Regions from separate parts of the Homo sapiens genome. Here region 2 is linked to region 1. The links are contacts of gene promoters, found by promoter capture Hi-C in blood cells and fetal thymus (Javierre and others, 2016). All regions are on one chromosome and are shown on one strand. Each heading gives the region's core, a stretch centred on a gene start or on the middle of the fragment in contact. The rest is flanking DNA. Distances are from core to core; before and after follow the strand shown.

What was found. The method cuts DNA at HindIII sites, captures the fragments that hold promoters and counts their contacts. A CHiCAGO score of 5 or more calls a contact.
Region 2: a contact is called between a fragment that was not itself captured here and the fragment with the promoter of SNAPIN in region 1, in 5 of 17 cell types (M1 macrophages, M0 macrophages, megakaryocytes and 2 more). The highest score is 7.9, in M1 macrophages.

The regions. Positions count from the first base shown.
Region 1 is chr1:153,656,541-153,661,193 of GRCh38, forward strand. SNAPIN (SNAP associated protein) reads left to right here and starts at 2,163. Exons shown (of 4, transcript NM_012437.6): 1 at 2,163-2,346; 2 at 2,598-2,644; 3 at 2,908-3,026. The coding sequence starts at 2,204. RefSeq lists an enhancer at 1,929-2,008. The HindIII fragment of the contact is 14,460 bases long and covers 1-4,653 here.
Region 2 is chr1:153,499,473-153,504,125 of GRCh38, forward strand. It overlaps the pseudogene RN7SL44P. Among named protein-coding and RNA genes, the nearest start is that of S100A6, 34 kb to the right of the region's middle. The HindIII fragment of the contact is 1,175 bases long and covers 2,104-3,278 here.

The DNA of each region.
Region 1 (4,653 bases), core at 913-3,412:
AATTCTCAGGGAAAAAGAAAACCATGGAAGGGTGTCTTGAGGCCAGGAGTTCGAGAACAGCCTGGGCAACATAGGGAGACCCTGCCTGTACCAAAAAAATTTAAAAAATTAGCCAGGCATGGGGGCAGGTGACTGTAGTCCCAGTTACTTAGGAGGCTGAGGCAGGAGGATGGCTCGAGCCCAGAAGTTTGAGGTTACAGTGAGCTATGATAACATCACTGCACTCCAGCCTCAGCAACAGAGTGAGACCTTGTCTCTAAAAATGAAAGGAAAAATAAGTGAACTAAGGAAACTTTAAAATTTATTTTTATGGCCGGGCGCGGTGGCTCATGCCTGTAATCCTAGCACTTTGGAAGGCCGAGGCGGGTGGATCACGAGGTCAGGAGATCGAGACCATCCCGGCTAACGTGGTGAAACCCCATCTCTACTAAAAATACAAAAAATTAGCCGGGCGTGGTGGTGGGCGCCTGTAGTCCCAGCTACTCGGGAGGCTGAAGCAGGAGAATGGCATGAACCCGGGAGGCGGAGCTTGCAGTGAGCGAGATTGCACCACTGCACTCCAGCCTGGGTGACAGAGCAAGACTCGGTCTCAAAAAAAAATTTTTTTTAATTTTTATTTTTTGAGACAGGGTCTCACCCTGTCACCCAGGCTGAAGTGCATGCAGTGCCACGATCTTGGCTCACTGTAGCCTCAACTTCCTAGGCTCAAGGTCCTCCTACTTCAGCCTCCCAAGTAGCGGGGACCACAGCTGTGAGCCACCATGCCTGGCTAATTTTTTTTTTTTTTTTTTTTTTTGAGATGGAGTCTCGCTCTGTCGCCCAGGCTGGAGTGCAGTGGCGCGATCAGGGCTCACTGCAAGCTCTGCCTCCCGGGTTCACGCCATTCTCCTGCCTCAGCCTCCCGAGTAGCTGGGACTACAGGAGTCCGCCACTGCGCCCGGCTAATTGTTTGTATTTTTAGTAGAGATGGGGTTTCACCGTGGTCTCGATGTCCTGACCTCGTGATCCACCCGCCTCGGCCTCCCAAAGTGCTGGGATTACAGGCGTGAGCCACTGCGCCTGGCCGCCTGGCTAATTTTTTATTTCCTGTAGAGACAGAGTCTCACTAGGTTTGTTGCCCAGACTGATCTCGAACTCCTGGGCTCAGGTGATCCTCCCGCCTCAGCCTCCCAAAGTGCTGGGATTACAGGAGTGAGCCACCATGCCCTGCCTGCATGTTTATATTATTCAGCCTTAAAAAGGAATGAAATTCGGATACATGCAGTTTTTTACATATTTAATGCCATTAAAAATATACTCTTTAGAAATAGACCAGGCGTGGTGGCTCACGTCTGTAATCCCAGCACTTTAGGAGGCTGAGTTGGGAGGATCACCTGAGCCCAGGAGTTCGAGACCAGTCTGGGCAACAAACATAGTGAGACCTCTTCTCTACAGAAAATGAAAAATTAGTCAGGCATGGTGGCTAACACCTGTGGTCCCTGCTACTTGGGAGACTGAAGCAGGAGGACCTCTTGACCCCAGGAGGTGAAGGCTACAGTGAGCCAAGACGGTGGCACTGCACTCCAGCCTAGGCGACAGAGAGAGACCTTGTCTTAAAAACAACCAACCACAATAAACTCTTTAGAAATAGAAAACGATACTATGAATATAATGTGGCTTTCTCATAAAGTGTTTTTGTTTTTGGTTTGTTTTTGTTTGGTTTGGGTTGCTTTTTTTTTTTTTTTTTTTTTTTTTGAGGCGGAGTCTCTCTGTTGCCCAGACTGGAGTGCAGTGGCGCGATCTCGGCTCACTGCAATCTCCGCCTCCCGGGTTCAAGCGGTTCTCCTGCCTCAGTCTCCCAAGTAGCTGGGTGCCCGCCACCATGCCCGGCTATCTCATAAAGTTAACATGGGAAGGCTATGGACAACTGCAGGTATTCGCGTTTATTTTCACCTTTAAAGAAAACGAAAAGTATCCACTCCAAAAACTGGTTCCTTTCTACAACCTGAACTTTGGAGATTTTCAAGACCAGCCACAAGGCCTCTACTCCTACGGCCTGGCCCTCCTCCCCGCCCGGTTCGCGCTAGACTCCATTTCCCAGAAACCCCGGTGTCTTGGTGGAGACAGCATTTCCCGGGCGCCCCCTCACGGGGCGGGGCAGTGCGGCGCGGCTCCGGTTCCCGGCGGCCCTCGCGGCAGGTTTCGGGCTTCAGGACAATTCGTGATGGCGGGGGCTGGTTCCGCCGCTGTATCGGGGGCAGGGACCCCGGTGGCGGGGCCCACAGGCCGCGACCTTTTCGCCGAAGGGCTGCTGGAGTTCCTGCGACCCGCTGTGCAGCAGCTCGACTCTCACGTACACGCCGTCAGGTGCCCGGGAGGGAAGTTGGGGGCGGGGCCTGTCTCTCTGGCTTTGTAGGGGCGGGGCCAAGAAAGTGTTCTGGCTGGGAGTGGGCATAAATTTAGGAAACTGATTCGAGGCGGGGAGGACAGGCGGGAAGGCCGCAGGTGGAGGGTTCAGCGGAGGCCGGCTTCTCTCAGTACTTGGTAAATACGTAGGGGAGTTCGTTTCCTGAGCTCCGGTAACTGCCTGACCTTGTAGGCCTTGTACCTCTTTGCAGAGAGAGCCAGGTAGAGCTCCGGGAACAAATTGACAACCTAGCCACAGGTGAGTGAGCATCCCTGTGTACCCGGAATTCTTCAGCCCACTTTCAGGACCTTAGGTTTTTGCCAACCCCTGGGCTGAGTTTCTGTCACTTGCTTCCAGGGCATCAGGGCTGCCAAAGGACTCCTCCTTTCAGGGATGTCTTAAATCTCTAATGGCTGTGGCCCGTTTGGGTGCAAGTGTTTTCCATCCCATTACCAGCCTGCTTTCCCTCAGAACAAGAGATAAGCCGTTAGATCTTAGCTGCACCTTACTTCCATCCCCAGAACTGTGCCGCATAAATGAGGATCAGAAGGTGGCCCTGGATCTTGACCCCTATGTTAAGAAGCTACTTAATGCCCGGCGACGCGTTGTCTTGGTTAACAACATTCTACAGAATGCTCAGGTAAAAGAATATCTTACCAACAGTGATTCTTTGCCCTTTTTTGTAAGTCCTCAACACAGTGAAAGCCACTGTAATTTTAAAATTCTTTGGGGAAAGGGAAATTCACTTCTCCCAGTACTTGAAAAATACCTAGGAAAATTCGTCTCATTCTCACTATTCAGTTGCTGCCATTTACATTCTTGTGTGTGTGTGTGTGACAGTCTCCCTCTGTCACCCAGGCTGGAGTGCGGTGGCTCAATCTCAGCTCGCTGCAACCTCCGCCCCCTGGGCTCAAGCAATTCTGCCTCCGCCTCCCGAGTAACTAGGACTACAAGCGTGCACAACGCCCAGCTAATTTTTGTATTTTTTTGTAGAAGTAGGGTTTCTCCATGTTGCCCAGGCTGGTCTGGAACTCCTGGGCTCAAGTGAGCTTCCCACCTTGGCCACCCGAAGTGCTGAGACTACAGGAGTGAACCACCACACCTGGCTATTTATTTTTATGATACAAGGTCTATCACCCAGGATGGAGTGCAGTGGCATGATAAAGGCTCACTGCAGCCTCTACCTCCCAGGCTCAAGCGATCCATCCACCTCAGCCTCCCAAGTAGCTGGGACTACAGGCATGCACCACCATGTCCAGCTAATTTTTGTATTTTTTCTAGAGACAGGGTTTCACCATGTTACCCAGGCTGGTCCCAAACTCCTGCATGCGAGTGATCCACCTGCCTGGGCCTCCCAAAACGCTGGGATTACAGGCGTGAGCCACTGCACCCGGCCTGCCTGGCCTTTTTTTTTTTTTTTTTAAATAAAAAGACAGGATCGGCTGGGCGCGGTGGCTCTTGCCTGTAATCCCAGCAGTTTGGGAGGCCGAGGTGGACAGGTCACCTGAGGTTGGGAGTTGGAGACCAGCCTGACCAACATAGAGAAACCCCGTCTCTACTAAAAATACAAAATTAGCTGGGCGTGGTAGCGCATGCCTGTAATCCCAGCTACTTGGGAGGCTGAGACAGAAGAATCACTTGAGCCCGGGGGACGGAGGTTGCGGTGAGCTGAGATCGCACCATTGCACTTCAGCCTGGGCAACAAGAGCGAAACTCCGTCTCGGGAAAAAAAAAAAAAAAAAAAAAAGACAGGCTATCACTATGGTGCCCAGGCTGTTCTCAAACTGGGCTCAAGTGATCTTCCTGCCACTTCCTCCTAAATGGTGCTGGGATAGGCATGAGCACCATGCCTGGCCTACATTTTTTTTTTTTTTTGAGATGGAGTTCTCCCTCTGTCACCCAGGCTAGAGTGCAGTGGCACGATCTCATTTCATTGCAACCTCCACCTCCCGGTTTCAAGCGATTCTCCTGCCTCAGATTACAAGCACCCGCCACCATGCCCAGCTAATTTTTTTGTATTTTTTAGTAGAGACGGGTTTTACCATGTTGGTCAGGCTGGTCTTGAACTCCTGACCTCAGGTAATCCACCCGCCTCAGCCTCCCAAAGTGCTGGGATTACAAGTGTGAGCCACCATGCCCGGCCTACATTCTTATATATACTTTTGAAGACTGACTTTGAGGTAGATCACGCCCGGTATTTTTCAGCACCTAGTTCACTTACACTCTCAAGCCTTTCACAGTGGTTAAGATTCCAAACCTTCCTTGTC
Region 2 (4,653 bases), core at 1,441-3,940, 160 kb before region 1:
CCCAGACTTTTTTATAGCCATAAGTTTACGTTTCGCACCATACTAATTTCACAGGAGATTCATAAGTTTTCAGAAAAGAAAAGGGAAAAAGTACAGACAAATAACTTTGGAAAATTTCTCCCTTTTAGAAATTCACAGTACACATTAGTATAATAATGCGTCAGTCAATATTCAGAAATGCGAGCAGCAGAAACTGCCTCAAACTGATTTGAGGAGAACAAAATTTTACTTAAATAACACTAAATTCTAGTATTCTCAAAAAACTGAAATAATTCTAGATTCAAGAAGACTAGAGAACTAGGGTTTAGAAGGTGGGCAAGAACAAAGGAAAGTTACACAAAGAGAAATGCCAAAATCACACCGCCAAAACAGCCTGGTGAGGACCTTGGCATAGTCACTCTGAACACTGAATGGCATGGGCACTGAGGAATGTGGCTGGCCCCTGCCAGGAAGGGTTCCCCAGCACCTCTGCTTCCGGGGGTAACCAGCCCAGCTCCAACTCCCAGACAGGTGTATCTATCCGACTGGTGAAGCCACCAGGGAAGAGAAAAGGTAAGGAACTGGGATCATCCGCTTCTGCTGTAGGAGATGGACACTGCCTGATGAGACGAGAAAGTCCACACATGGAAGATGAGGGTCCAGGAGCTGGGTGGCCAAAAAGAAAAAATATCCAATAAGGCACTGAGAAGACTTGCCAAAATGAAATGGTTTTACATGGTTTTGCTTAGATTTTCCTAGCCTTGTTTTACCAGATCCCTTTTTCTGGAACAATTATTCACAAACATCTCATAGAAAGTAGTGTTCTACAGAAAGCAATATGAGAAATGCTGTCATATAAGTTTAGAGAAATTGTTACCATTTTTACACAAAATTGGAATTACACTGTACATACAATTTTGCATCATTTAATGTGTAACAGCATATAACTTACCTGTATATCAGTTAACAGAGCATAGTTAATTTTCTTTTCTCTTTTTTTCCTTTTTTTTAAGAGACCAGGTCTTGCTCTATTGCCCAGGCTAGAGTGCAGTAGCTATTCACAGGAGTGATCCCAATACTGATCAGCACAGGAGTTTTGACCTGCTGCATTTCTGACCTGGGCCAGTTCACCCTCCTTAGGCAACCTGGTTGTCCCCTGCTCCCAGGAGGTCACCATATTGATGTCAAACTTAGCGTGGACACCCAATTAATTGGCATAGTGCACTGCAGCCCAGGACTCATAGGCCCAAGAGATCCTCCCGCTTCAGCCTCCTGAGTAGCTGGAACTATAGGCACGCACCAGCACACCCAGCTAATTTTTTATTTTTTGTACAGACGGGGTCTCCCGTCTGGTTGGCCAGGCTGGTCTTGAACTCCTGGCCTCAAGCGACCCTCCCGCCTTGGCCTCCCAAAGTGCTGGGATTACAGGTGTGAGCCACTACACCCAGCCTGTTTTTCTTTTTAATACTTCCTCACCCTTTCCTTTGCTTTCTGCTTTCATTTTATGTGTCCTGTTTTGTTTTATCAGATGCTCTGGTTATTTGGAAAACATATTTTTCTCTCCATTTTCCCTGCATGTACTTTAAAGATTTTCAAAAACATTTTTACAAATATTATTCTAATCTTGAAAATTAAGAATAAATGTATATCCTTTTATTCTCCTCATGTAAAATGAGGAAATTAATACACTTTTACTCTTTCTCAATCTGCTTGCTACTTACTGGTGTCCAGCAATATGGCTTGTGACTTAAACTCTGATTCTTGCTAATTCTTTTTTCTTTTTTGAGAGGGAGTCTCGCTCTGTCGCCCAGGCTGAAATGCAGTGGCACAATATCGGCTCACTGCAACCTCCACCTCCCAGGTTCAAGCGATTCTCCTGCCTCCGCCTCCCGAGTAGCTGGAATTACAGGTGCCCACCACCACACCCAGCTGATTTTTGTATTTTAGTAGAGACGCGGTTTCACCATGTTGGCCAGACTGGTCTCGAACTCCTGACCTCAGGTGATCCTACCACCTCGGCCTCCCAAAGTTCTGGGATTACAGGTGTGAGCCACAGGGCCCAGCCTGATTATTGCTAATTAATTGTATTTTCATTTTATTTTTTCTTGAAATAATTATTTTTTAAGCTTACAGTAAATTTTATTATTATATTTCAATTATTTAGATCTAACAGTATGTTTAACCAGTTTTATTGGTTTACCATCAAGAATTCTAAGTCACCATTCCAGAATTCTTAAAATTTTTATTCATCTTTTAGCCAGTCTTGAAGTAATTTACTTCAAGAAGAGAACATGATTCTTTACTTCAAGAAGAGAATATTAGGGACCTTTGTATATCTAGGGATATTTTTCTGGTGTCCTCACAGATGGCTAGCTGCTTAATTATGTTTATGCAATTCTGAGGCACAACCTTTTCTTTCCTCAAAAACTGAAGATTTTGCTTATTTGTAACTTCTAAGAAATATGAGATTCACTTGAATTGCTCTTTTATAGGCAATCTTTTTATTTTCCTTTGAGCAATACTTTTGCCTGAGAGTGTCTAGGCATATCTGTGTTTTTATACATTTTGCCTGGGTTGCAGAGAGCCCTTTTGGTCTACACAAAATCTATGTGGTAGATGCTACAGCTCTAGAGAAAGTTGGCATTTGTTGTGGCTATTTACCTGCTGTCCATGCCTGTTGTGACTGACATCCAGCAATGTTGATGGACACTGTTAGGAGCTACTCTTATTGTAACAATGAGGGTGCCATGCACCACTCCCAGTATTCTCTTTCTTCTCTCTTACGTCTACTTTCTGCCCAATGATCCTTTATTCTCTTGTTAGATACAGAAATATTGGGAAGACCAAGGAAGAGCTCAGGGCTCTGGCTGCCTTATAGTGATAGGCAGATAGGAAGGCAAACACTAACATTAAATTAAATTAAATTAAATTAAATTAAATTAAATTAAATTAAATTAAATTAAAATATAAAATAAAATAAGCCCTACAAGGAGTTGTCTGTTTGGTAGTAACCCTATGTAGCCAGGAAGCTCCATCTTGCCCAAGTTGGGGCAGGGGATGGAAGACTACCCCTTCCATGCACCACCACCTCCCTCGGTTTCCAGGCCCCACCACCCATGTGGGCCTTTGGTGGGTGGGATGGGAGGCTCAGTGAAGTGTCCAGGCCCTATGTTCCTCCTGCTGGCACTGATCAGTGCTGGGAGGGCCATCTCAGGGCTAGAACTGTTCTGTGAGCTCAGTGCTCTCAGCTCCTGCCCCCACCAGTCGTCCCATATGGATTGGCTGGGGTCATGGTAGGAAGCTTAGGGAACGCTTACATATGCTTCCAAATCTTTATTATCTTGCACCTCTACCCTGGCTTTTTAAAATGCAAGCACCAGGACGGGCACAGTGGCTCACATCTGTAATCTCAGCACTTTGGGAGGCCGAGGCAGGTGGATCATGAGGTCAGGAGTTCGAGACCAGCCTGGCCAACATGGTGAAACCCCGTCTCTACTAAAAATACAAAAATTAGCTGGGTGTGGTGGTGCGCACCTGCAATCCCAGCTACTCGGGAGGTTGAGGCAGAAGAATCGCTTGAACCTGGGAGGCAGAGGTTGCAGTGAGCCGAGATCATGCCACTGAACACCAGCCTGGATGACAGAGTGAGTCAGCTCCGTCTCAAAAATTTAAAAAAAAAAAAAATTCAAGCACCAAAAGTGTGACACCTGTTTTTTCTGGTTCTTCACTAACCGCATTCACTAAAGCTGCCAGTGACGCTGGTCCAGCTGCCTGGATGCAGGACGGGCTCCAGAAACCATTCAGTGAAGCCTGGTTGGGAGAGAAAACACAAAGGGATCCCCACACCCTGTCTCTGGGCCCTCCCAGGAGCAGACCCTGTAGGACAGCAGTTCTCAAAATGTGGTCCCCAGAACGGCAGCAACAACGGCACCTGGGATCTTACTAGAAATACAGAGTCTCAGGCCACCACAGACCTGCTTGTGTTAGGACCTCTGGGATAGGGGCCCAGAGATCTGTGTTCTAACAAGCCCTCCGGTGATCCCAGTGCCCACTCAAGTGTGCAAATTACTGCGCAGTTACCAGGTGTCCTCCCACACTTTCACGGGCTGTAGAAACTAGTCTAAGAGAGAACGGAGCGCAGAGCACTGACCCAGGGTCTTCATATTTCCTTGTGCTTGCTGTTTGTTGGGCTGGGTAGTGTAGACATTTTGCCTTACTCCCTACCTTCAGGAGCCATTTCACAAGAATATGATGGTGTCACGGTCTGTGGGCCAGGTGCCTTTTAAATTGGAAGCTCTCTTTTAAGACTCAAGGCAGCTTTATAGGATAGATAATTGTATCCCATTGCTATGGCTTGAATATTTGGCCTCCCTAAAACTCATGTTGAAATTTAATCTTCAGTGTGGCAGTACTGGGAGATGAGGCCTGCAAAAGGTGATTGGGTCATGAGGTCCCTAGCCCCACGAATCCACTAATCCATTCATTCATGGATAAATGGATTAACGGATTAATGGGTGATCATGGGAGTGGGATTGGTGGCTTTATAAGAGGAGGAAGAGAGACCTGAGCCAGCGCACTCAGCCCCAGCACCACTTGATGCTCTGTGCTGCCTCAGAACTCTGCAGGGAGTCCCCACCAGCAAGAAGACCCTCACCAGATGCAGCCCCTTGACCC